6 separate regions of the Homo sapiens genome follow, and regions 2, 3, 4, 5 and 6 are each linked to region 1. Evidence: promoter capture Hi-C in 16 types of primary human blood cells and fetal thymus (Javierre and others, 2016). All regions are on one chromosome and are shown on one strand. Each heading gives the region's core, a stretch centred on a gene start or on the middle of the fragment in contact. The rest is flanking DNA. Distances are from core to core; before and after follow the strand shown.

Region 1 (3,978 bases), core at 991-3,490:
TAGTGGAGGCCAGGGATGTTACGAAACATCCTACAATGCACAGGGTAGGCCTCCACGACAAAGAATCATCTGGCCCCAAATGTCAACAGTGCCGAGGTTGAGAAACCCTGTTCTAGTCTGTGGAAAAGCCACAAGGACACTTCTCAAGTAGCATATTTGATACCCAAGAGATTATATTATTTTCTATGTATGGTGTCTTTTCTAGTCTCTCTAAAACTATCTTTGCTATGGATTGAATGTTTGTGTTCCCCAGAATTCAAACATTGAACCCTAAATCCTTAACGTGATGGTATTTGGAGATGGAGACTTTGGAAGATAATTACACCATGATGGTGGAGTCCATGTGAATGGGACTAGTGCCCTTACAATAAGATGAAGGAACCAGAGCTCTCCTCACCCCACCCACCAAGTGAGACTACAGCAAGAAGGTATTCCTCTGCAAACGAGGAAAAGGGCTCTCAGCAGGAACAGATTTCATCAGCACCTTGATCTTGGACTTCCCAGACTTTTAGAATGGTGAGGAATAAATTTCTGTTAAGCTGGAACTGACTAAAACAATCTCTTTTCTTACAGGCTTCAAGTATATTTGACTTTTTCTCATTTTTATTGCATCCCTTTATTGCCTCCTTAAGATTATATTCCTACTCATTTTAGTTCAAACCAAGAGTCCTATATCCTCTCAGCCACACATTTACACATAATTTTTGGACTATTTCTTTGTGTACTTAATATTCATCCATTTTTATTGGTAGTGCCATTTTTTAAAATGTCAACCTTAATTTCTGATTTCAGCCTTCTTTGCTTCCATGTCCAAATAATAATGATAATTATATATATTCTTAATATTTTTAAGCAATCGACTTTTGTGGATCTATTAACATTTTATTTATGCTGGGTAAAAGAAATTTTAGTTCTGCTTATTCTCACATTGTATTCACACAAGAACCCTTTAGTAAAGAACTTCACACTTACAGTTCTTTGGCTAGTCTGCACCTCACAGCAGTCCACTTATTAGGCAAATATATCATTTAATCAATTATTTCTCTTTGTTCAAACATCAGTTATAAAGAACTTGCAATTTAGGTATTTATTCTGTTTCAGTTTTGAAACTGAAGAAAATCCCCTTTTCAATGATTTATACTTAAAGATAGTAAAAAGAAAGTTTAAAACAATTTACTTCAATGCTTTCTCAAAATAAAAACATTATTTTGATGAAACATTATTTTCAGTCTAAGTTCCAATTGATCCACAGGTTCAGTCCACAGGTTAATTTAGTCCAAAGATCACTATGGCAAAATGGGCCTGAGCCACACAATAGATTCTGGCAGGTAATCTCTTGTGTGGCAGCTCATCCATACTTAAGTCAGCTCCCATAGCTACACAATTTGCAGGGCCCAATTCCAGACACAAACGTGGGGCCCTGGTTCAACACTTACTGAGAGAAAATGTAGCGTCCTTCTGTTCTGGGGGCCGGGTAATAGCACAGGTTGCAGGCCCATGAGGCCAGCCCCAACTATCAGATTGTGTATTTACAATGTCAGTCTAACCGTTGCTGAAAAATACTTAGCTCTGTTGTAATCAGATTTAATTTCTCAAGAGGCAAAGTACACTCAACAGTTTGCTTAAATCAGAGAGACCAAAAGGAAAGATTTGCTGTAAATTATCAACTAGCAAATCTTAGTCAGTTCAACTTAATTTTTATTGAGGGAAGAAGGGAGAAAACAGAAAACTGATGGAGTTCCCACTGCGTGTCGGCCACTGGAGATTTCAAAGGTTTCTTGTTTAACTCAAGCTACCAAGTAGGTGACGTGGATAGTCTTGGGACAGAGGAGTTGAGGGAGTTGAAATTAGGCCCTAGTTTCTACATAAGTGACACGGAAACCCTCTGCACGAGTTAAGCGAAGCTACATCTCAAGTTTATTAATGCCTCGGGTTCTTGCTGCTGGCTCTGGGAAGAGTCTGAGCACGCACAGCAGACTGATCCCCGACAAGGTGACAGGGACTAACCTAACGCCCTCCTCGTTGGTCCTAGTAACCACACAGAGCAGAAACGCGGGCGAAGGCAGGAGTTGGAGGGGGCGCCCACGCGGAGGCTGCCGGGAAGTGCAATGTGCAAAGGCGGCGGGGCCATGGAGACTGAACTGGAGAAGAGCGGGTTCTCGGAGTTAAAAGCGAGAGTGAGTGGGACCGGAGGGGCGGGGCATCATATGGGCGGGGCTGAGGCGAGGCCCCGGCGGCCATCTTGAGCCCCGCCTTTTACTTCGGCCCGCTTCTTCTGGTCACTCCGCCACCGTAGGTAAGACTGGGTTCGGGTAGAGGCCTGGACGTTGTCAGCCTTCCTGCGGCTGCGGCACGGCTAGGCGTGATCGGGGCGGACGCCGAGTCCTGCGGTGCAGGTATCCGCAGGCACGAGCGCAGAGACGGCGACCCTGGGCCTTGGGCGCCACCATCCATGACAGGAGGCCAAGGACCTTTTCCCGTGACCCGGAGCCTCGCCTCTAATCCCTTTTCCTTCTCTGAGCCTCCAACCTAGTGTAACCCGGGGCGAGCGCCCGTTTACCTACTGCCCGCTACATTTGTACAGCTTTTTCCTGTTCAGAAAGACTTTCCTAGACCCGCAGCCACCGCGCGAAAATGTGAAGTAGATGTGTACGCATTTTAAGGAGGGAGCTGGCCTCAACGCGTTACTAGCGGCCGCCGGCGCCTGGTTCGGGGGAGTGTGGACCTGCTGCTCTAGGCAGCGTCCGCGTCGGGGCACGAGCCAATGGCGCGGTCAGGAGCACTCACCTGATGGTGCCGAGGGGAGCACGTGTCTTTGGAGTTTGACAAAATCTGTTCGGGTCGTAAAATGCTCTCAGAGCGCTGTGGGGGACTGGAAGTCATTTCTGATGGGGTCATTAGGGAAATGGGATTGAGCGCACCTGGAAGGAGAGGGCATTCAGGTTGCAGGAAAAATAATAGCTCATGTTTGTGTGTGTGGTAGAAGCAGCATTTTAAGCACTACGTGAATTAACTCATTTAATTCCCAGAGCAACCCTATCAAATTGATATATATTACTGTATACCCATTTTGCAGATGGGCAAATGAGGCATAGATTAGCTTGCCCAGTGTCATGTAGTAATAAGTGGTGAAGTCAGGGTTTGAACCCGGAGGGTCTGGCCCCAAAACCTGCTCTGAAACCATTGTACCGTGGCATTGAGTAAAGCCACCCGATAGCAACATCCAGGCCATCCTAGAATTATGCATAGTTGAGTTTAACTAACAAAATAGGGAGTGAGACCAGAAAAATAATCTGGGACCAAATTATAGACCATATTTAGAGCCATGTGAAGGTGTTTGGCGTTTATAGATGCTATATTTTTTTTAAAAAATTTTCCCCAGAGTTTAATAGAAATCCTTACCTAGGCAAGCCATGTGAATTTTTATGAAGGAAAAGAGACCCAGCCTAGGCAGCATGGCAAAACCTCCTCTACAAAAAATTACCTGGGCATGGTGGTGCCACCTGTGGTCCCAACTACTCCAGAGGCTGAGGCGGGAGGATCACCTGAGCCCGGGGGCCGAGATGATTGCAGTGAGCCGAGATCAGGCCACTGCACTCCAATCTGGGCCACAGAGTTTGACCCTGTCTCAAAAAAAAAAAAAAGAAGAAAAAAAAGACTGTGTTTGCACACAGGTAGAGTGTGACTGAAGTTTATATGGAGTTTTATTCATCTATTTTTTCAGTGATCCTGCATGGTTTTAATTTTATGAAATTTTAATGGCATTAAACTTGAAGAAAATTGTACAATTAACATGGTCTTCCATTTCAGTGACTTTCTGGTTCTCAGCGACTGGCCTAACAGCGAAAGGGATTAGTAGTCTCCACCTGCAGCAGCCAGGGGGTGATGAGGCAGTTCTCATCTGCTCATTATTGTGAGCTGGCGAACTGCGTTTTTACATATGACTAATGGATACTTAACACTACTGAAATACACACT
Region 2 (3,978 bases), core at 530-3,029, about 10 Mb after region 1:
AAGAAATATCTGCTTATTTGTGACAGCCTCAAAGTATACCACTAACAATGACAATAATAATGGGTAAGGTTTGCAAACTTTAGCCAGTTGCTGGACACTGTGTGAACCCTCAATATGGAATGGCTCACATATTCACAGCAACACTATGAATGACACACGATTTTAATGCCCATTTTACAGAGTTTAATAACCTATTCAAGCCACAAGGCCAGTAAATGATGCAACAGGGATTTGCACCCAGAAGTCGAACTCCAGAACACTGGTTTTACCTTTGACTCAGTTCAAATCAAACAATCCAAAAGTTTTTTGAGACTTATACCCCATTATCATCCTTTTTTTCCCCCCTCAGGGGTACTAAGAAAAGGGGTAGTGAGAACAGGGTACTAACAACAAGGATACTGAGAACAAAGTATATTAAGTATTGGGGTAGTGAGAACATGAGAACAAGGGACTAAACATAGGGGTACTGGGAACAGAGTTGTAAGAAAAGAGTACTACGTACAGGGGTACTACAGACAGGCAACTGAGTATAGCAGTACTAAAAATACGGTACTAGGAAGAGGGTTAACAGAACAGGACACTAAAAACAAAGTACTAAATACAGGAGTATTACAAATAGAGGTACTGAGAACTGGGTACTGAGAACTGGATACTGAGAATAGAGTAGTGAAAACAGAAAGAGATGACTTTCTCAGAAGTACCAACTTCATCTAGGTTCCTAAGTCTCCTTTAGCGATGAACCAGACCGATCATTTACTCTATGTCCTTCCAGCCATATCCCAGATCTATGACAGCTCTGCCGATGTCACATTATTTTTACTGAAATTTCTGCACCTATCATGAGTTCAACAGAACTGTTATTGCTTTGCACATGTTGGTATAAACTTTAATTTAGGGCAAACACTCTAATTCTCAACCACTAACCCAGTCACTGCAAACCGGCCCATTTGGAAGTGGGGAGGCAGGCCCTGCAGATGCGGTTTGCGTTAAGATCGGGTTTCTTCTTCCACCTCCCATCCCCAGGCCTCAGCTAAGTCTGATACCTCGAGTTTGACGTTTCCCGCGCTGCCAGTCGAGGCAGTCCCACCGCAGTTCAGGGCCTGGTCGCTCTTCTTCTTTTTATACTTGTCCTTGTACATCTTGTTGCGGTGTTTCTTGCACATCCACGGTTTGCGCTGCTTGGCCACCTGGCTCGTGGTCTCGCTGCAGCCTTCGTAGGTGCAGGTCTTGCTCATGCTGCCCCCACCGCTGCCCCGCCTCCGGGCGCCCCCGCTGCTGCCCTCGCCCCCCGAGTGAGTCTCCTCGTCCTCTAGATCCTCCAAACTAGCCGCGCTCTCGCCTCCCCCCGGAGGGTCCGAAGTGTCTAACAGGTCCGCCTCGTCCTCCCCAGCCTCCTCTTCGCCATCCCCGGCCCCTTCGCACAGGTACCTAACGGGCTTGCCCGCCCCAACGCTGCCCCCGGGGGCCGCAGCCTCGTCCTGCCCAGCACAGGGTTGCATCACTAGCAGGGTGAATTGAGAGGCCGCGGCCGCCACCGAGGCTGGCGCCAAGGTGGGAGCCGCAGCCGGGGCTAGGGCCGCGGGGTGGGGCACGCCGCTGGCGGCGCCCGGCCCCGCGCCCTCCGCTACACCCTGCGCCTCCATGCTGCTAAGACCTGGCCGGGGTCCACGACCCCGGGCTTTTAGCACCTGCTTGGCCTAACGGCACTTCGCGAACCAAAGACTCAGGACACGCTGGGGTAAAAGGCGCCTATACCGGGAAGGCGCCCCGACTGCGCCTGCGCGACCGCAGCCTGCGCGTCAGCGTGTGTACGCCCGCGGGCTGTCAGGGAGCGCGGCGCCTCTGGGGGCGGGGCTGAGCGCACAACCAACGGGACTGACTGCGCATGTGCGGCCGCGGCCCCTTCGGCCAGCTGGGGGATTCGTAGACAGGGTCTGGGGGCTGTGTCAGGTGAAAACCTGCAGTGGCTGGCAAGGCAGCGCCGTTTTACCTGATCCTATTGTATCTAAAGCGGTTCAAAGTATCTTCTACAGGAGTTCCAGTATGCAAATTAGGATTGTTCCTGAGCGGTCTCACGACTTGTAGTGTTAGGATGCTAATTTTATTATTTCCCCCACAAACTGCCTGCAAGGGGAGATTTGAAGCTGGGATGCAGTGGTGTCACAGCCTAGAGTCACTAGCTCGCAGTCCATGAAGGCAGAGGTGGCTTATTTGAAAATAGTGGAGCGGAGAGGGATGGGCCACACCTTTGGCCGAGTTGTATTTGCATTGAGGGATAACTTTGTTTTTTTTCTCCTGGAAACTCACTTGATTGTTAGTACTTGCTCTTTGCTGTGGCTGCTGAGATAAGTCTTAACGTTTTCGTTTAACACAGTGAAAATGTGTGAAAAGGAATACTGAATGGCAAACGTTTAAAAAAACAATGAATGTTCTACCAGTTCTATCAGTTGCTGGGCAATTGCTGGTTGTTAAATCTTGGCTTGCCCAAATCCCAGGAGAGAAAATATCCTGCCGTATCCTGAACTGTTAAGTAGATGTTCTTTTTCCCTTCATCCTATTCTTTCGCCTAGTCAGATTTCCCATCCCACCTACCGGAAAGCAATGACTTTATTCAACAAACTATAAATCCATTCACACTAAGATGTTTGGGTGCTGACATATAGGTAGATCAGTTATGTTTTAAAGAGAGGCATATGGAAGGGAGAAGGTTTGGAATTAGAGCAACCTAGGTAGTACTTCCTGTGTGACTACAGCAAGTTCGTGACAGCCTCTCCGAGCCTCAGTTTCCTCATCAGTAAAGCCTGCAGTCGGTGGTGTGCTAGCGCCAACTGATGGTAACTGGTTGCTAAAATTTCAGGAATATAATTAGCAGAAAAATTAAACACTGCTATTATTAAAAGTCTTACTACATAAACTTACAATAAGATTATATTAAAAACAAAGGGTACAAATCTCAAAACTCTTCATTTTCTAATTATTTTATTATGTTTTATCATTATCTGTGCTTTTAAGGTTATTTATGTCTATTGTATCTGTATGCGGAAATATTATTTAGTGGTGTGTTACTGCACATTTTCCCAACTCTGCCTTCAGTATGTCATGTTGATTGCTTGAAATCAGCCACTTTTGGAGTATTTACACCAGGGAAATGATCAAATGCTACGAAGCAGGTTTACACTTATTGCTGATTGTCTCTGCACTTAAGAAAGTGACAGTGAAAATGTTAATGAAGATTAAATTTAAGGCCAGGCTCAGTGGCTCCCACCTGTAATCCCAGCGCTTTGGGAGGCTCAGGCAGGTGGATCACGAGGTCACGAGTTCGAGACCAGCCTGACCAACATGATGAAACCCCGTCTCTACTAAAAATACAAAAATCAGCCAGGTGTGGTGGTCCACACCTATAATCCCAGCTACTCAGGAGGCTGAGGCATGAGAATCGCTCGAACCCAGGAGGAAGAGATTGCAGTAAGCCAAGACTGTGCCACTGCACTCCAGCCTGGGCAACAGAGTGAGACTCCATCAAAAAAGAAAAAAAGAAAAAGAAAAAGATTAAACTGAAAATGTATTCTATCTGCAGCTCTCACATTGTGAATATCCAACCCCCCCAACTGAGAAAATATTCTTTCAGTATTTGAAAACTATCATGCAATTCAGCAAAGAAACTGCTTACATCACATCATTGAACAAGTGAAGACCTTATATACATCTTCATTGTTTCACTTTTGTTTTTTCTCAATATAAACAAAAATGTCTATCAACATTCATGTCAAAACTTTATGTCCTTGCCATCATCAAAAAAAAGAAAAAGAACAAAAAGTACACTTTACTTCTTTACTGAATTGGACAGAAACCAAGCATTTATTCCTTTTTTTAAATGAAAAAATATAACTTTATTCATAAATAATGTTACTTTTTTTCTTCGACTTTTATTTTAAGCTCAGGGATACATGTGCAGGATGTGCAGGTTTGGTAGATAGA
Region 3 (3,978 bases), core at 17-2,516, 9.8 Mb after region 1:
TTGACGAATCTGCTGTTAAAGAAGGAGCGGGTCTCCCTCTTTATAAAAGAGCTGGTGCTGTGACTCAGAATAACACCAACAGTTCGGAGATAACAGGGTTTCTAGCGCAGAATCAAGCAGTGCGTGTGGAGCGTTATTCCAATGTTTCTGCGTCTTTTTTCTGCCTGTGACTTAGGCTCAGCCCTGGCCTTGCCTCTTCACTGGTCAAGGGCTCCGTGCTCCAACACATGAGAAACCTGAACTTTTTTTTTTTTTTTTTTTGAGACAGAGTCTCGCTCTGTCGTCCAGGCTGGAGTGCAGTGGCGCGATCTCGGCTCACTGCAAGCTCCGCCTCCCGGGTTCACGCCATTCTCCTGCCTCAGCCTCCCGAGTAGCTGGAACTACAGACGCCCGCCACCGCGCCCCGCTAATTTTTTGTATTTTTAGTACAGACGGGGTTTCACCGTGTTAGCCAGGATGGTCTCGATCTCCTGACCTTGTGATCCGCCCGCCTCGTCCTCCCAAAGTGCTGGGATTACAGGCGTGAGCCACGGCGCTCGGCCGAGAAACCTGAACTTTCTGTGCGCTCATTGTCCGCACCACGTTCTGCTCTGCAGGTCCCGGAGCTGAGGGCTCCTAAGCATCACCTTGTGTTGTAGACTGTGTCGTGCTCAAGGCTGCCATCTCCCTCCTAGGTGGGGTTACCAGATAAAATACAGGATACCACGTTAAATTTGAATGTCTGATAAACACAGCGTGGTTTTTTTGTTTTTTGTTTTTGTTTTTTTGTGGGTTTTTTTTTTTTTAAAGCATGAGTATGCCCCAAATAGAGCATGCAATTAGTTGTTGCCAGAACCTGGAGGGAGCTGGGAAGGCTTTACAGATAGATAGTGGTGATGGTTGCACAGTATGTATGTAATTAATGCCACTCACTATTGTAAACTTAAAATGATTAAAATGGCAACTTTTTATTTTACCACAGTTTATAAAAACTAATGTAATAAACCAGAAACCTGTAACTGGATGAGTCGTATGGTATGTGGCTATCTTAATAAGGCTGTTAAAAACATGATTAGTTTTTTAATCTGAAATTCAAATTAAGTAGACGTCTTGCATACTTGATAAACCTGGCGCCCCGCTGTGGAACCTAGCGCTCCTCTCCACCGACTGGGCGCCGAGGGCACGAGAGCGGCGTTTTCTCCGCCTCGCCACGCGGGGGCGCTGCGGCCAGCGGGCGCGACCTCTCTGGCGGCGGGGCCGGGTCGCGCGGGCGCGCTTCCGCCTGTGTGGAGGTGCGGGATTGGGCGGGCTGCCACGGCATGGAGAATGGCTCCGCTTCTGTTGCAGCTGGCGGTGCTCGGCGCGGCGCTGGCGGCCGCAGCCCTCGTACTGGTGAGAACAGGGATGGGAACCCGCGCAGGCCGGGGCTTACCGCTCTCCTGGAGACTGCGGCTCCTCAGGCGTCCCCTCCTCCGCGCTACCAGTTCTCGGAGAAGTCCCTTTTCCCCTAGATTCCCCCAAATTCCTGACCTCGGAGTTTCCTGGAGTTTCACTCTCCTTTTCTTCGGTTCTTTAATTTTCCCTTGGAATCTTATCTCTTTGTGTGCTCAGAGACTTGTAAGTTTTTTCACACTGGAGCGCACCCACCCGGCCTGGCATCATCGCCGCTTCCATCGCCCCTGGCGCCCGCGCCCCCTACCCACCTCCTCTGTCAACCTCGACCTCTCCCAGACTCTCCGGGACCTGCAGCCGCTGCAGTTCTGCTCCACCCAGGGAGGTCTCGAGCCCCCAGAAGGGGTGTGCTCCCTAGCCTGCTCCCTTGGCTGATGTGGTTAAGCAAATAGGGGTGACGGAGCCTTGACGGCAGCCATCTGTTACAAATGGGAATAAATGCGTGGATCGATGAGACCCACTAGGGACGCAGGGTGAGCGAGAGAGACAGGCCTCAGGCGCCTTGTCCGGGGTCGCATTGTGTCCCAGAATTAAGCACCCTAAATATACTGCCCCTAAACAAGGCAGGACGATAGAATGCAAACTCGATTGTCTTTGCCCTTGCTCTCGAAACACAAAAACATTGTAAACACTTGCTGATTGTTAAGTGGTAGAAAATTGGCGAACTCTCTCCCGCACACCTTGGAATGAGCCTGCCCTCTAGTTAGTAAGTGGAGAGGATTTCAGCTTCCTTGACATTCAGATTAGCCACCTAGACAGCACTGCCAGGAAGGCCACTCTGCCATCTTTCCAGAGGTTGTATAAATTTACAGTTTAGATAAAATGTAATGCATCCTTACTTCTTTGTTGATAGTATCTGGGTGAGAGAGGAGTCCTCTCTTGCCCTAACTAGTAGAGATTTCAGGGTTTAGGGCTTTTTTGTTTTTTCAAGTTTTTGAGCAAACCAGGATTGATTGATTGATTGATTGATTTTTGGCGGGGTGCGGGCGGGGAGTGGATTCACACATTCTTAGATTGAAGCTGCCTTACTTTGGGTCTTTTGCACAGATTTTATGGGATTGTACTGACGGTATTTGTTCCCACTAGCTTGAAGTGATAAGAGCTACCATTTATTGATTGTAGTACTTACTATATGTTGTGTTGCACTTGGTTTAATAGGAGTTATTAAATCTTTAACACTGTGACATATATGTTATCATTAGCATTATTTTACTGGTGAGGAAACATGTTGGAGAAATGAGCTCGTGTACTCAAATGTTGCACAACTAGTGAAACTTAGGTTTTTTAAATGCCAGAGCAAGAAATCATTAAAAAAATAATTTTTCAAAACCTCATCCTGTCTTCATATGTATCCACTCTCCATTACTCACAGTCTCACCTCCTTTCTGAATTATTTTAAAACAACTCGAAGACATTTTATCTTTAAATCCTCAGCATTTATTTCTAACAGATAAGGTCCTTCTTTTTAAAATACCACAATAAAGTGGTCACAGATTTAAATTTATTCTGTGATTTCAAATGCCCCCTCAGTTCACTTGCCCTCACTTGTCTCATATATGTCTCAGTATATATGTCTGTTTGTTCCAATCAGGATCCAAACAAGTGCCACACATTGTACTCTGTTGATGTCTTGAGTCTCTTAATCAGTTGACAGTTTCTCCTCCCCCTTTTTTTCTTTTCCTTGTCTTTTTTTTTTTTTTTTTTTTTTGAGACGGAGTCTGGCTCTTGTCACCCAGGCTGGAGTGCAGTGGTGTGATCTTGGCTCACTGCAACCTCTGCCCTCAAGCAATTCTCCTGCCTCAGCCTCCTGAGTAGCTGGGATTACAGGCGCCTACCACCACTCCCGGTTAATTTTTGTACTTTTAATAGAGATGGGGTTTCGCCATGTTGGCCAGGCTGGTCTCGAACTCCTGAACTCAGGTGATCCACCCTCCTCGGCCTCCCAAACTTCTGGGATTACAGACATGAGCCACCGCGCCCGGCCTTTTTCCTTGTCTTTAATATGATCATTTGTCCTGTAGAACTTCTCACAATTTGGATTTCTTTGATTGCATCCCCTTAATGCCTTTTAACATCTTCTATCTCAAATTTTCTATAAACTGGTAGTTAGGATGGAGAGACCTGATCACATACATACTCGATGTGTTTTTTAATCAAGAAAAAATTGTGAGTGATGCTTCTTCCTTTCTCTTGTGTCTCATCAGGAGTCATGTAATGGCCATTTGTCTCTGGTGTTAAGATGGATCTGTGGTTTCAAATGTTGCCAGCCAGACCCACCAGTTTATAAAGTTTGTCATCAGCCTAATGGTTTTAGTAGTCATTGAGGATCATTACCTAAATGCTTTATTTCATTGCGGGTTGCAAAGTGAAATATTCTCATTGTATCCTTCATTTATTACCTAGAGTTTTGTAATGAAAGAAATCTCATCCTCAGCTATTCATTTACCCTAAAATACCTTTCATACATATAAAACGCAAAAGGCAAATTTTTGAAATGAGATCCTTCCTGCATCTTACCCAGTTTTTGTCTTTAGTATCATTGCAAAT
Region 4 (3,978 bases), core at 1-2,500, 7.8 Mb after region 1:
GCTGTTACTTCCTTTGTGTTCATAATTTTTTTAAATCTCTATTTACTTACTTGACCTATGTAAACCAATCCATTGAGGGAGTCAACTGCAACACAAAATGTTGTTCCGGTAAAATATTCTGGGTGCTTAGGCCAACCCACATCCAGCCGGTAAAGAATTTTCTCAGTTCTCCAGGAAACTGCAAAAGTAAAGTTCCTCAAAACCTTAAACAAAATCAGACAATTCAGATTTAGTTTACCGTCTAGGTAAGAACAAAAAAAGGGCGGGGGGGCCGGGTAACAGGGCTTATTTTTAAGCATGCCTTGACAACTAGAAGTTTGCTGGACTGAAATAATTCCAAAGAAATGAGCTTAGATGCCTAAAGACCAACACGACCACAATACAAGTCTGCAAATTATTTGAGGATGTAGTAAGAGTTGGGAAAGAGGAAAATGGCGATGTAACATACACAAATTTTTAAACTCAAAGGGTCAAGGCAGTTTGGACCCAGGTGCAGGCTTTGAGACAAGCTACTGAGGGAACCAGGGCCTGCCACCTCCATGCCACGACCGTGGCGACGCCTCCCAACAGGGCTACCCGCACACCCGACAGTCATTTCCTCACTACCCAACTCACTGGAGAGCCACAAAAACGCGAATGCAAAACCAAAAATGCAAGAAAGAAGCCAGCACCGGCTACGCAGACCCAGAATCTCGCCATGACCAGACGGGAAGCCAGGAGAGGGAGGGTCCGCAGGTGTCTGGGGGAGGACCTGACAGCCTCAGGCTGCAACGGTTTGCAGCGGCACAGAGGGTCTGCCCGGGGCCCGAAGACCCTATCTCCGGTTTCCCCTCCCTGGATGCACGAGCTTTGAGTACGAAAGGGAACAGAGACCAGGGCGAATGAAAATCACAGAAGACCAGTTCCGGACTTCGTGTGCATTTCGGGGTCCCCGCCCTCATGTCAGGTGCTTCGGGCTGACCCAGTGACCACCCTTTCCCGCCCTCAGGGCAGTCCGCGCCGCTGACTTTCAGTGGCCACCAAAGTATGGGCGCCCGTAGATATGCCTTAATCGCTCGCCATTTATTCTTTTTAATCCAGAGGGCAAAATCAAAACATCGCACACTCAGACACGAGGTATGGTGGGGATGACATTCAAAATAATGACCGCTAGGCTTCGGGAAGGATTTTTGCCACATCCTATTCCTACCATCCAGGCATCCGCTATGGATGCCTATATTCCCACACCAGGACCCCACCTCTGGCTTTCAGGAAAGAGGGGCCCAAGCTGGCGGCGCAGTGTTGAGTTTACTTGGGCGCGACTGGCTTTATTGTAGGTCCCCATGAGCTGGTGGGGGCTGTAGGGGTAACCAGGCAGGGCGTCTGGCGCTGTTGGGGCTGCGTTTTTCCGGAGTCCCCCTATGCGAGGCCGTGCCCCTCTTCGCCCGGCTCCTGGTGCTCCCCAGCCGCCGGCCCGCTCCCGGAAGCTGCAGCAGCTGGTAACAAAGAGCCTGCCGGGCCGCCTGCTGCCGGGGCCGAGGTATCCAGGAGTCGGGCGGAGCGGCTGGGGATGAGCGCGAGCCGGACCATGCGTCCGGGTTCGCGGCGGTGAGGGTCGCGGCCGGCGGCCGAGGCGCAGGTGCGGGTCGAGAGACCGGCGCCTCCCTCCCCGCCGCCCGTGGACTCTGAGCGCAGGTGTTTCTACTCTGCCGGCCGCTCCACCTGGGAAAGCGCCTTCAAGAGCTACCTCTGGCGGCACCTGGCCCTCAGCTGCAGGGAAACCGCACTCAAACCTGCCGCCGAGCCCGGGTTTTTCTGCAAAACTCAGAGGACCTGGCTCTTGCCCGAGGTGCCCTGAACCATTGTGTGAATAAGCTGGGGAAGCCTGACTGGAGTGTTTTTTCTTTTTAATAAAAAGAGTTTTTCTGAATCTCAATTTTTAGAAATTTTTTTTGCGAAGTTTGCAATACTCTCTACCTCTTCGCATCCTCTCTTGCTCGTGGAGTCTTTTTCCTCCTCAGCTATAAATATTTTTTACTATCGGCGGAGCAGACCAGGGATGAACGTCTTTTAATTGCAAGTATAACTGTTAAAACCACGTCGGGATAGTAGTCAAGATGGATAAAAAGTCCTTTGAAATGGTGCTGGATGAAATTAGAAAGGTAATTAGACCGATTCCATGAATTATTTTATGAGATGAATTCTCGTGTTTTAGACTCTCTTTGAGGTACTGTATGGAGATTGTGCAGAATAAGGGTCCTAGGATTGCCAAATTGGTTTGAATTTTCACGTGTAATGGAGGAGTTTATATCTTGATACGTTTCCAGTACAAATAGAAATTAAGTTACGTTAACGCCAAATTTGAGACTCAGCACGGTGTCGTGGGAATTACATTTGTAAAGCCCTCGGTTCCAAAGCCGGCTTTACAAATCCGTAATAGCTCTGTACTTTTTGGGTAAGGGGTTTAATATTTTTGAGTTTATTGCCTCATCTTTCAGTAACACAAGAGTGACTGAAAACGAGAGGTAATACGCAGAAAGTTTCTTTTATGGTAGTTATTATGATGGGGTTTTCAAATCTAAGCATAAGGTAGAGTATATTTGTTGCGTTGGCCATGCAAAATTCGTGTCCTGATGGTAAGTGTGGCATTAAGTTTAAAGTCACGTTCTTAGGAATTGGCCGTCAATAACTTGAGCTTCAAAACTTTTTTCTCCTGCTTTCCAAGTTTTTGCTGCTTTTTGAGGCTGTTGTGTGGATCGCATTTCCCAGAGTGAACCAGACAGCAACAATTCTGGAAGGTAGTCTTGAGCCTAACAATATCTCAAGCACAAAAATACCGAGAAGTTACTTATTTTAAAATGTAAGGACTTGATGTACCATTGTTACATCAACACACGGTGCTTTCCTTCGGCCTTCCGGGCAATTATTCTTTCGTCAGCTGCATACCTTTACGACCCTTGACTGAAACGGAAGAAATTGTTGCCATGTGCTCTGGTGCTTATTTCAGTTTACAAAGCTATTATTAAAATTGTCTCTGGTCTTGCTGTTTTGCTTTGTTTTTATACAGCTTTTTTCTTTTTTCAAATTGACGTGTTTAAGTTTTCATATTTGATAATACTGAACATTCTTTTTTGAACAAGTTCTGCTTTTGCAAACCTAAGTGTCCAATTAATTTTTGAAATAAAATATTGGTTTGCTAATTATATGCCTAGAAATTTGTCACAATTTGTTCTTGGGCTGATTTTTAATTACTTTTCATGAGAAAATAATTGGTGAGTCCAAGTAGACCAGCAGATTTTTACTTTTGGAAGATACAGGGTCTCAGTGTGCATATTCTCTTCCTGGTGTCATAAAAACGTCACAGTAAATTCTAAAGAGGGGAATAGGAAATTTTCCAGATATGAAAGTGTTGTTCACATGAGATGGCAACTTAAGTCTGTATTTCTGGTCAGCAGTTAAAATATATCTTCTGCTGGCTTTGCCGAGTGATTAGACACATCAACATTGTCATGGTCTATTAAAATGGAATAAAATATTGGCATATCTAAATATGAGCATTACTACTGATTTTCTTAAAAATCGTTCTTTGTAAATGTAAGTCAGTTTAAACCAGGTCATCTCTTGAGTATCACAGTGAGTTTATATGATAGATAATACTGATTGTCACTACTGTCATTTAAAACAGAGGCATATAAGAAGCCACTAGCAGAAGAACTGGGAAAGGGAGTAGAAAGGGGGAAAAAGCAATGGTTAACTGATTATTCAAAAAGGAGGGAATGATAGCTATTAATTAGTGAGCACTTACTTTGTGAGCCTGTTTTTAAGCACTTTCTCCAGTCATTATTTGTTTTGATTCTCCTTACAACGCATGAGGTGTAGGCACTGTACTTCTTGCTTATAGCTGGTGGCCTATTCTCTGTGAGGTTAACTATCAGCTCAAGACTCCCTAGGTGGTAAGTTGGGGGCTGGGGGCAGTATTCAAACTATGCTTGCAGAGCA
Region 5 (3,978 bases), core at 792-3,291, 5.9 Mb before region 1:
GCTAATAACTAGAAATAACCCAGATGTCCACTGTTAGAATAAATTGCGCCGTACTTACGGCTATACAACATATATTTATACAATGGAATATTACACAGCAATGCGAAAGAACTACTACTTCACACAATATGAATGTATACTTATGTAATCATTAAAGCAAAAAGAGTGTCTACATTCAATAAAGCACCTACTGTATGATTCTGTTTATGAGTCAAGAACAAACAAAACTAACTGATGGTGATGGAGGTCAAAGCAGGAGTCAGCAGGACAGTAAGAAGAATTACTGGCTGAGAAGGCGCATTAAGGAGCATTATGAATGGAGATACTCTGTATCTTAATCTGGTGGTGTAAACATGTGAAAACTCATCAAACTATAGACTTAAAATCTGTGTTATTTACATAAATCATATATGCCTCCATAAAAATTTTTAAAGTAAAAGAAGATGGAAAGTGACAATAAAATTCATTATGTTAATACTGTTTAAAAGCAACTTTTATATAAACTGGATTCCCAAAGGAAGCACTAGGTCTAACACGACAATAACAAATGTAAATTAAAAGTCATAGCTGTCTAGCTAATACAAGAAATTATGGAGAAAAATTCTCAGTGCTTCCTGTAACATTATCCCCAAACTCATCCCAGAAGCCTTACTCCCAGTATCTAAAGGTCTATATATTTAGGTGTAAAAAACACACCTGGACCCTAAAAGGCCTTATAGGACCTGGCTCCTAGTTTCCTGTCCAACCTCTCTTAATCAAATGGGCCCTCTAATAAAAAGGGCCTTTTTGTTGCTTCACATACAGGCCAACTTCATTCCTACCTCAAGATCTGCACTGGCTCTTGGTCCTGCCTGGAATATTCTTTCCCCAGAGCTTCCAAGTTAATTCCCTTGTTCCTTCAAATCTCCACTCAAAGATCTCCTCAACGGAGGCTCTAGTACCATGTGGCACATTTCTTATAAAAGTCATAGCTAGAAAAGACGCTGTCTTGCCTCAAATTGTTAAACGTAACAGCAAAACAGGTTTCCTCTTTTCTGTGATTTAACGCAAAAACAAACAAAAACTCCTGGCTAAATTCTGTGACCCGCAGCATCATTTATCTTTAGGTTCTCCTTTAATTCTTATTATTTAACTCTTGATCTTTTACATTCCTTTACAGCTTTATGGTTTGCCTTCATTGCACACCTACAAAAAGTGATTTCTAGGTTAGCTGAGTATATAACCAAGACTTTAACCCACAGCAATCAGCGCCTTTGCACACAGCCACTCCAAAAAAAAATTTTGATGAATATACAAATGAGTGAATAATGAATTGTGATAAGACATCTGGAAAGTTTCAGGGACGTGAGGGAAAAGGGTTTTGCTCCAGTAGACTGACTTCATACCGACACTTTTACGTAAGAATGGCAAGAATTATTGTCAAACGAAAAAATTAACTTCATCGAGCCCAGAGTCCACTTCTCTAATCATAAATGTCATTAAAAAAAAAATCCTTTCAGCCAAACTACAAATGCCAACCATGCTCCCAAGAAATAGAGGAGGTTTTTCTCAGGAGCTGTAGGGAGTGGAAAGGGCAAGACAGGAGTCTGGGGTAACGCGGCTACCGTGTAACAGAGAAAAGAGACGGAGAATCTCAATACCGGAGCTGAGACGCAGCATCAACAAGAGCCTGGGTCCCTGTCCGGCGGTGCGGGGAGAAGGCGGGTCAGCGGGGACCCGAAGTGGCCCAGCTCCCCTAAGAAGAGTGGAGGAAGCAGAAATGGGCTCTCTCACCTCTAACGCCGCCTGGGGGTCCTCGTCGATTAGGGCATCCGAGAAGCTCTGGAAAAACCTGTCAGGAAAACAACGACTTCAGCAGGGCTCACTAGCCAAGGAAAGGGGGATAAAATAAATACCAAAGGGAAAGAAAAACATGCACCTCTGGGATGTTGCAGTTCCTGCTGCAGCCGCCGCCATCCCTCGTAGTCGCTGTTGCTGCCGCCGGAGCTGCTACTATCACGGTTACCACCTCCACCACCGCCCAAGGGGGAAACTTCTGGAGAAACACCAACCGAGCTTCCGTCCTAAATAGCCAGCGAGCAGCCACGCAGCGTGCTGCTAGGGGGACGGGAGGCGACACGCCGGCGCGGGGCCGGCTGGGACAGTGGAGGACCGATTCCTCCCAGCCGCACCCCGGCCCAGGACCCGCGCTCCCAGTCCCCGCCCCTCGCAGCCATGGTTACGGAGGCCTGGGGCGTACACGTTCTTCCTCCCTTCCACCGCGCCCACGCCAGCGGGCACTCCCACGGAGCTTTCAGTAGTACTTTAGAAGCACTTTTGTAACGTACTGTCATCCCTAAGGAACGTGTGGCGGTTAGGGGCGTTTGTATGTCTGTTAATAACGGAAGCTACTTCGAGCTCCCATTTTCCCTAGTTTTTATCATGGCTGCCACAGCTAGCCAAGCCCTTTCGCCTCCATTACGTCTTTAGCGGCTGCGTGGTCTCTTCCGGGAGCAGAGGCCCGGATGACGCGTGGATCCCCGCGATCTTTGGGCTGGGGATTCTAAACGACTGGGACTTGCCGGAAGTCATTCTGCACTAATAGCGGCAAAAAGCCTTCTGGTTCCTGGGGCGACGCGCCCGGCGGCCGTACTATTCACTTCCCCAGAACGCCACAGCCCAGGCTTTCTTCTTAGTGGGCTTCCCAGACCAAGAAGGGAAACCTTTCATCCGAAGGTACTGAGGGGAGGAAGGTGGCCTGAAGTTATCTCAGTGCCGCTTTGTTTCCCACCCCAGTCGGTCAGCCCTTCCTCAGCGCCCTTTAACCCTTGCAGATCGGATGGAGAAAGCTGCCAGCACGTTCTAGGGATGGGGGCAGATTGAGGAGCGGGAGGGAGTAGTCTTTGTCTAACTTTATACCAGTACCAAACTATGTTAATTTAATGTAGTTTTATAATAAATCTTTAAGTCCTGTAACTTATTCTCCCAAGATTGTTTTGGCTTATTCTACGGCCTTTGTATTTCTAGGTGAATTTTGGAATTAGCTTGTTAAAAAGGGGGGGGATTTTTTATTGGGCTCGCATTGAATCTATAGATCTGTTTGGGAAAACTAGTATCTTAACAACAAGTCCTTCAATCCATGAATATCATTCTTCCCCCACCATTTATTTAAGCGGTCTTTAATTTCTCCTGGCAATATTTTGTAGATTGCACATATATCTATATTTTAATGCAGCTGTGCTTGGATAGATTGCAGTATAGAGATCATATATATCTTTCATTAGATTTATTCTTGAGTATTTAGTGTTTTGTATACAATGTTAAATGGCATTTTGACTTTTTTATATTCTACTCGTAAGAATAAACAATATTGATTTTAACATACTGACCTTATATGCAAGCATCTTGCTAAGTTCCCTTGTTATTTGTAATACTCTGTAGATTCTTTCGGAATTTCTGTGATCAAAATCTTGCAATCCACGAATAAAGATGGTTTAACTTCTCTGTAACCTTTATACCTTTTATTTTTATTTATTTTTGCCTTTTGTTGCTGGCTAGTGTTTCCACTATTGAATAAAAACAGTGATAATGGACTTCCTTGTCTTGGTCATAACATCAGGAGGAAAGCATTGAATATCAACTGCTTTTTCTGCCTTTATTGAAATGTTCATTTGTATTTTTTAATGTTACTGTGAATTACCTTGGTTAGTTTTCAAATGTTATCTAAATGGCCAATTGTCCTTCTGGACCCCACTGACTCCAGTTGGGATGGCACTGTAAGAAGAGAGGCAGAGTCAGTGAAGGAGACAAGGTTTATTCAGGATTTACATACAAGGGTGGTCCGGTGGTGGAGGGCTGACCTGGAGAACTGCTACCATTTGTAAAAAGCACGTAGTCTATATAGCATTTTCACTTAGCACTCTCCTTCTAGCAACCTCCATTTAACCCCAAAGGGCCTTGATCTGTACAGCGTAAGATACGGGCCAGGGATGTGGATGT
Region 6 (3,978 bases), core at 821-3,320, 5.7 Mb before region 1:
ATACAGGAAACCCTTATACGGTTGTCTATCCCAGCAGCTATCATATGCCAGGCTTCTATTTGTGTCCTACAGACTGTACATCCCTCAAGGGCAGAAAACATACCTTGCAAATGTCCTCACTGCCTAACATGTTGATAATTGCAAAGCCCAGGCATAACTGCACAGTTCCACATCTGATTAGGATGCTTAGGTCACATTACTTTCAATTAAAAAAGACTAAAAAGTTGGTAAACAATCAAATGCTCAAAAATCAGGCAATGATGGTAAATTGTGATATATATTGATAGCATATTACAGCAAATCAAATGTTTTCAAAGAACTTTTGGTTATTGGGTATATGGTCATGATGGAAATTGAAAGATATGAAATACAGAAGACACTGTTTAGAAATAGACCAAAATACACACAGGATTTTGGAACACGGTAAAAGTAGCAATTCATTTCGGGGGAGAGATGGCTTATACTCATTGGAAAGAGCCTTTCCTTTCTTTTAATGCCTAGCCACAGACCACTGACTCCACGACTGGGGGAAATGTGGAGCCCTGGGGGCAGAGAGCAAGCCTGCCCTCTGTCCCTCTGCCCCTGTGCCCCTCTGCCCACGTGGGCACGCAGCCTTAGTTAAGACCCCAATAAGTGGTAGGCTCTCTAAAATGTGTTCACAACCTTTAAAGCAGTCATTCTATTTTAGGAAGACACTGTAAGAAAATAATCCTAAAGAGAAAAATATGTATCAATTGTAGAAGGACATCTATAAGCTGCTCCATTTATTTATTTATTTATTATTTATTATTATTATTTTTGAAGCAGAGTCTCGTTCTGTCGCTCAGACTGGAGTGCAATGGTGCGATCTCGGCTCACTGCAACCTCTACCTCCAGGGTTCAAGCGATTCTCTTGCCTCAGCTTCCCGAGTAGCTGGGATTACAGGCACCCGCCACCACGCCGGGCTAATTTTTTGTATTTTTAGTAGAGACAGGGTTTCTCTATGTTAGCCAGGCTGGTCTCGAACTCCTGACTTGTGATCCGCCCGCCTTGTCCTCCCAAAGTGCTGGGATTACAAACGTGAGCCACCGCGCCCGGCCAGGTGTTCCATTTATAAAGCAAAATACAAAAATGAAATGGCTAGGGGCACGAGGCCGCCTGGTGGGTGAGAGCAGCGGCCATGGATGGCTTTGCGCAGACCAACAAACAGCTAAATTATAGAGGAACTACATATTGAAATGTAAATTCACGCATGAGGTCTGTATTAATATTGAAAATGCCTAAATAAAAATAATCTTTTTTTTCTGAGCCTGGGGGTGGGGGAGTGGAGTGGCGTGGGGGAGTTGGGGTGGAGGGGGAAAGGGTCTTTCTATGTCGCCCACTGGTGTCAAACTCCTGGGTTCAAGCAATCCTCCCGCCTCAGCTTCGGAAGCAGCTGGGAATACAGGCGCGCGCATCAAGCCCGGTTAAATAAAATCTGTTTCCCCCAGTTAAAAAAAAATTAATTTGTGTGGGTACATAGGTGTATATATTTCTGGGGTATATGGGATATTTTGATACAGGCATACACTGTATAATAATCACATCAGGGTAAATGAGGTATCCGTTACCTCAAGCATTTATCCTTTGTGTTACAATATAATCTTAAAGGGAAAAAAAGAGCAGCACAGGTAGTACTGACTGCAGCTGTACAGAAACAATGCGTGCCATAAATATTCATTTGAAAGAGAGGGGTTATGATTATTTACAATCATTAGCGAATGTAGCAACATTCTGGGCACTGACAAGAAAACTGCCACAAACATGCAGGCATAATGCACAATAAGCAAGTCCAAGCTGTGGTCGGGGCTCCCTCGCGTCCCTGTAAGCTCTGAATTTAGAATGGGGTGGACCGCCTGCTGATCAAGGGTTCTGAAAGGCCGGCGGCTAATGGACCGCCAGGGGGCGCTCCACGCACGTCTCCACGTCCCCGGGCGCACCTCGCAGCCGCGCCCGCTCGCTGCCAGGCCGCTCCCTCCGTCCCTCACCCGCCCCGACTCGCTTCCGTCCCGTCCGACGCTAGGGGGCGCCGCAGGCTGCCTGGCGCGCTGCTCGCGGCCTCGGAGGGCCGGGGCTGGGTGGCAGCGGCCATGGACCGCTTCGTTTGGACCAGCGGCCTCCTGGAGATCAACGAGACCCTGGTGATCCAGCAGCGCGGGGTGCGAATCTACGATGGCGAGGAGAAGGTAGGGCGTCTGCCAACCTTCCCAACGGGCTGGCGGAAGGGACCCCCGGTGGGCGCGCGGCCCGGCTCAGCGCGGCCCGGGTCGGCGCGGCCCGGTCCCCGGCTTAGCTCACGGCCCTCGGCGGCCCGGCAGGCCTCTGTGCGGGGTGCAGCGCTCTTGCGCTCCCCGCCGGTCGGTAGCACGTGGCGTGGGGCGCTCGGCTGCCTCCCCAGCGCGGGTCCCAACTTTGGCACGGTTCCCAGCAGGCGCGGATCGCGGCCGCTTCCCTCCGCCCGGAATGCTTCCGGGAGCGCACAGCTGCAGTGCCCGGGAGAAGGAGCGCTCGCCGTCTGCGGGCGCCGGGCGGCGATCCGGCAGTCGACTTCCTTGGCGTGGTTCCAGACCCCCTGACGACACCAACCTCGGCGTCGGCACCGGACAGCCCCGTTTCGCCTTTCTGTGAGGAGGGCGCGGTGGCCGTACAGTCCGTGCCCCAGCGGAAGCTTTAGCTTGGACCTTATGCAGTCGGAGGGATTAGCATATCTGGGCAGAGGGGTGAGGGATTGCTTCGAAAGGATTTCCTAAAGAGGTATCAGTGCTTCATTGGAATGCCCTTGCCAAAGGCTATTGGGTTTTTGTTTTGTTTTCTAATTGCTTTAGAAAGGCGTTCTGAGCGTGTTTTGTAAAGTGTTATATTAATAGTAGACCGTGCCTTGTAGTGCAAGCATAAATCTTAGAAGGTGCGTTTGCAAATCGAGAGGAGAAATAGGAAGTGTAAGTAAATATTTTGTAGATACTTTACTGAAACTATGAAATATCTTGTCCTGGATTGAAATGGATAAACTGGAATTAGAAAAATTTTAAAACTCATTTACCCACAAGCATTTTTGGTTTCCAGAAGTTTTAATTTGCTACCTCTCTTCCCTTGCCGTTTTATTAACGACACTTTCCGCTGTACTTTGATATAAGTTCCTCAACTCAGCTTTTCCTGGTAAGTGCTTACAGCTATTTAGAGGCACAGGTGACATTGGACCCAGGTCCTCTGACTCTCTTAGGGCATTTTCTATGGGCTGTGTTGCCTGTATTAGTGAGTAAAGGTCTTTTCCTTAAATAATTTGCTTGGACCTAACTTCACTTACTGCCTTAGCACTTCTTAATTTAATTAATTAATTTATTTATTTTGAGACAGAGTCTCGCTCTATCGCCAGGCTGGAGTGCAGTGGCGCGATCTGGGCTCACTGCAACCTCCGCCTCCCAGATTCAAGATCCTGCCTCAGCCTCCTGAGTAACTGGGATTACAGGCGCCTGCAACCATGCCCGGCTAATTTTTGCATATTTAGTAGAGACGGGGTTTCACCACATTGGCCAGGCTGGTCTCTAACTCCTGACCTCAAATGATCCGCCCGCCTGGGCCTCCCAAACAGCTGGGATTACAGGCTCTTGAGCCACTGTGCCCAGCCTGCCTTGGCACTTTAACTATCTTGATCTCAAGATGAGTCTTCCATCCCCGGATTGGAGTGACAAGCTATTTTTTTCTCCTTTCTTACCAATTTACATCTTTGTGACTATTTAAAATGGGAAGGTTAATCCACCTCCCCTTCCTCGGTGTTTTGATTTTGCCTCCCCTTTGAGAGGAACCGAATGTTGACAGTGTTAGATCTGTCCTCAGAGACTCCTCCAGTGCCACTCCCTGAGGGAGCACTAGGAAGTCATGCTTTTGCAGAGCATGGCATGATACTGTTCTATGGAACTCCAATTTGAAGACTAGGAACACCTTTGCTGGCAGGCAGTATA

What was found. The method cuts DNA at HindIII sites, captures the fragments that hold promoters and counts their contacts. A CHiCAGO score of 5 or more calls a contact.
Region 2: the fragment with the promoter of RFXAP here is called in contact with the fragment with the promoter of ESD in region 1 in 1 of 17 cell types (naive CD8 T cells); the score reaches 5.7 in naive CD8 T cells.
Region 3: the fragment with the promoter of ALG5 here is called in contact with the fragment with the promoter of ESD in region 1 in 2 of 17 cell types (non-activated CD4 T cells and naive CD8 T cells); the score reaches 8.0 in non-activated CD4 T cells.
Region 4: a contact is called between the fragment with the promoter of PROSER1 here and the fragment with the promoter of ESD in region 1, in 1 of 17 cell types (naive CD8 T cells). The highest score is 5.2, in naive CD8 T cells.
Region 5: the fragment with the promoter of SUGT1 here is called in contact with the fragment with the promoter of ESD in region 1 in 5 of 17 cell types (activated CD4 T cells, non-activated CD4 T cells, total CD4 T cells and 2 more); the score reaches 12.2 in activated CD4 T cells.
Region 6: a contact is called between the fragment with the promoter of VPS36 here and the fragment with the promoter of ESD in region 1, in 2 of 17 cell types (naive CD8 T cells and non-activated CD4 T cells). The highest score is 5.3, in naive CD8 T cells.

What each region holds. Positions count from the first base shown.
Region 1 is chr13:46,795,423-46,799,400 of GRCh38, reverse strand. It overlaps ESD (esterase D), which reads left to right and starts at 2,240. Exons shown (of 10, transcript NM_001984.2): 1 at 2,240-2,296. RefSeq lists enhancers at 2,323-2,372, 2,504-3,105 and a silencer at 2,683-2,732. The HindIII fragment of the contact is 4,378 bases long and covers 1-3,978 here.
Region 2 is chr13:36,817,023-36,821,000 of GRCh38, reverse strand. RFXAP (regulatory factor X associated protein) reads right to left here and starts at 1,779. Exons shown (of 3, transcript NM_000538.4): 1 at 1,044-1,779. The coding sequence starts at 1,643. LOC124903158 (a long non-coding RNA gene) reads left to right here and starts at 1,930. Exons shown (of 2, transcript XR_007063760.1): 1 at 1,930-2,834. RefSeq lists enhancers at 972-1,201, 1,212-1,261 and a silencer at 1,492-1,861. The HindIII fragment of the contact is 8,641 bases long and covers 1-3,978 here.
Region 3 is chr13:36,996,628-37,000,605 of GRCh38, reverse strand. ALG5 (ALG5 dolichyl-phosphate beta-glucosyltransferase) reads left to right here and starts at 1,266. Exons shown (of 10, transcript NM_013338.5): 1 at 1,266-1,371. The coding sequence starts at 1,306. RefSeq lists enhancers at 1-80, 541-590 and a silencer at 1,051-1,350. The HindIII fragment of the contact is 11,758 bases long and covers 1-3,978 here.
Region 4 is chr13:39,035,361-39,039,338 of GRCh38, reverse strand. It overlaps PROSER1 (proline and serine rich 1), which reads left to right and starts at 1,250. Exons shown (of 13, transcript NM_025138.5): 1 at 1,250-2,141. The coding sequence starts at 2,097. It overlaps NHLRC3 (NHL repeat containing 3), which reads right to left and starts at 883. Exons shown (of 7, transcript NM_001012754.4): 1 at 616-883; 2 at 51-203. The coding sequence starts at 699. RefSeq lists a silencer at 1,540-1,769 and an enhancer at 2,912-3,021. The HindIII fragment of the contact is 10,591 bases long and covers 1-3,978 here.
Region 5 is chr13:52,650,899-52,654,876 of GRCh38, reverse strand. It overlaps SUGT1 (SGT1 assembly cochaperone of MIS12 kinetochore complex), which reads right to left and starts at 2,041. Exons shown (of 13, transcript NM_006704.5): 1 at 1,919-2,041; 2 at 1,774-1,831. The coding sequence starts at 1,956. It overlaps SUGT1-DT (SUGT1 divergent transcript), which reads left to right and starts at 2,570. Exons shown (of 1, transcript NR_170300.1): 1 at 2,570-3,572. RefSeq lists enhancers at 1,561-1,680, 1,790-2,291, 2,401-2,740 and a silencer at 2,041-2,310. The HindIII fragment of the contact is 4,517 bases long and covers 1-3,978 here.
Region 6 is chr13:52,448,726-52,452,703 of GRCh38, reverse strand. VPS36 (vacuolar protein sorting 36 homolog) reads left to right here and starts at 2,070. Exons shown (of 14, transcript NM_016075.4): 1 at 2,070-2,205. The coding sequence starts at 2,110. RefSeq lists silencers at 1,824-1,883, 1,924-2,383 and an enhancer at 1,904-2,484. The HindIII fragment of the contact is 2,912 bases long and covers 1-2,689 here.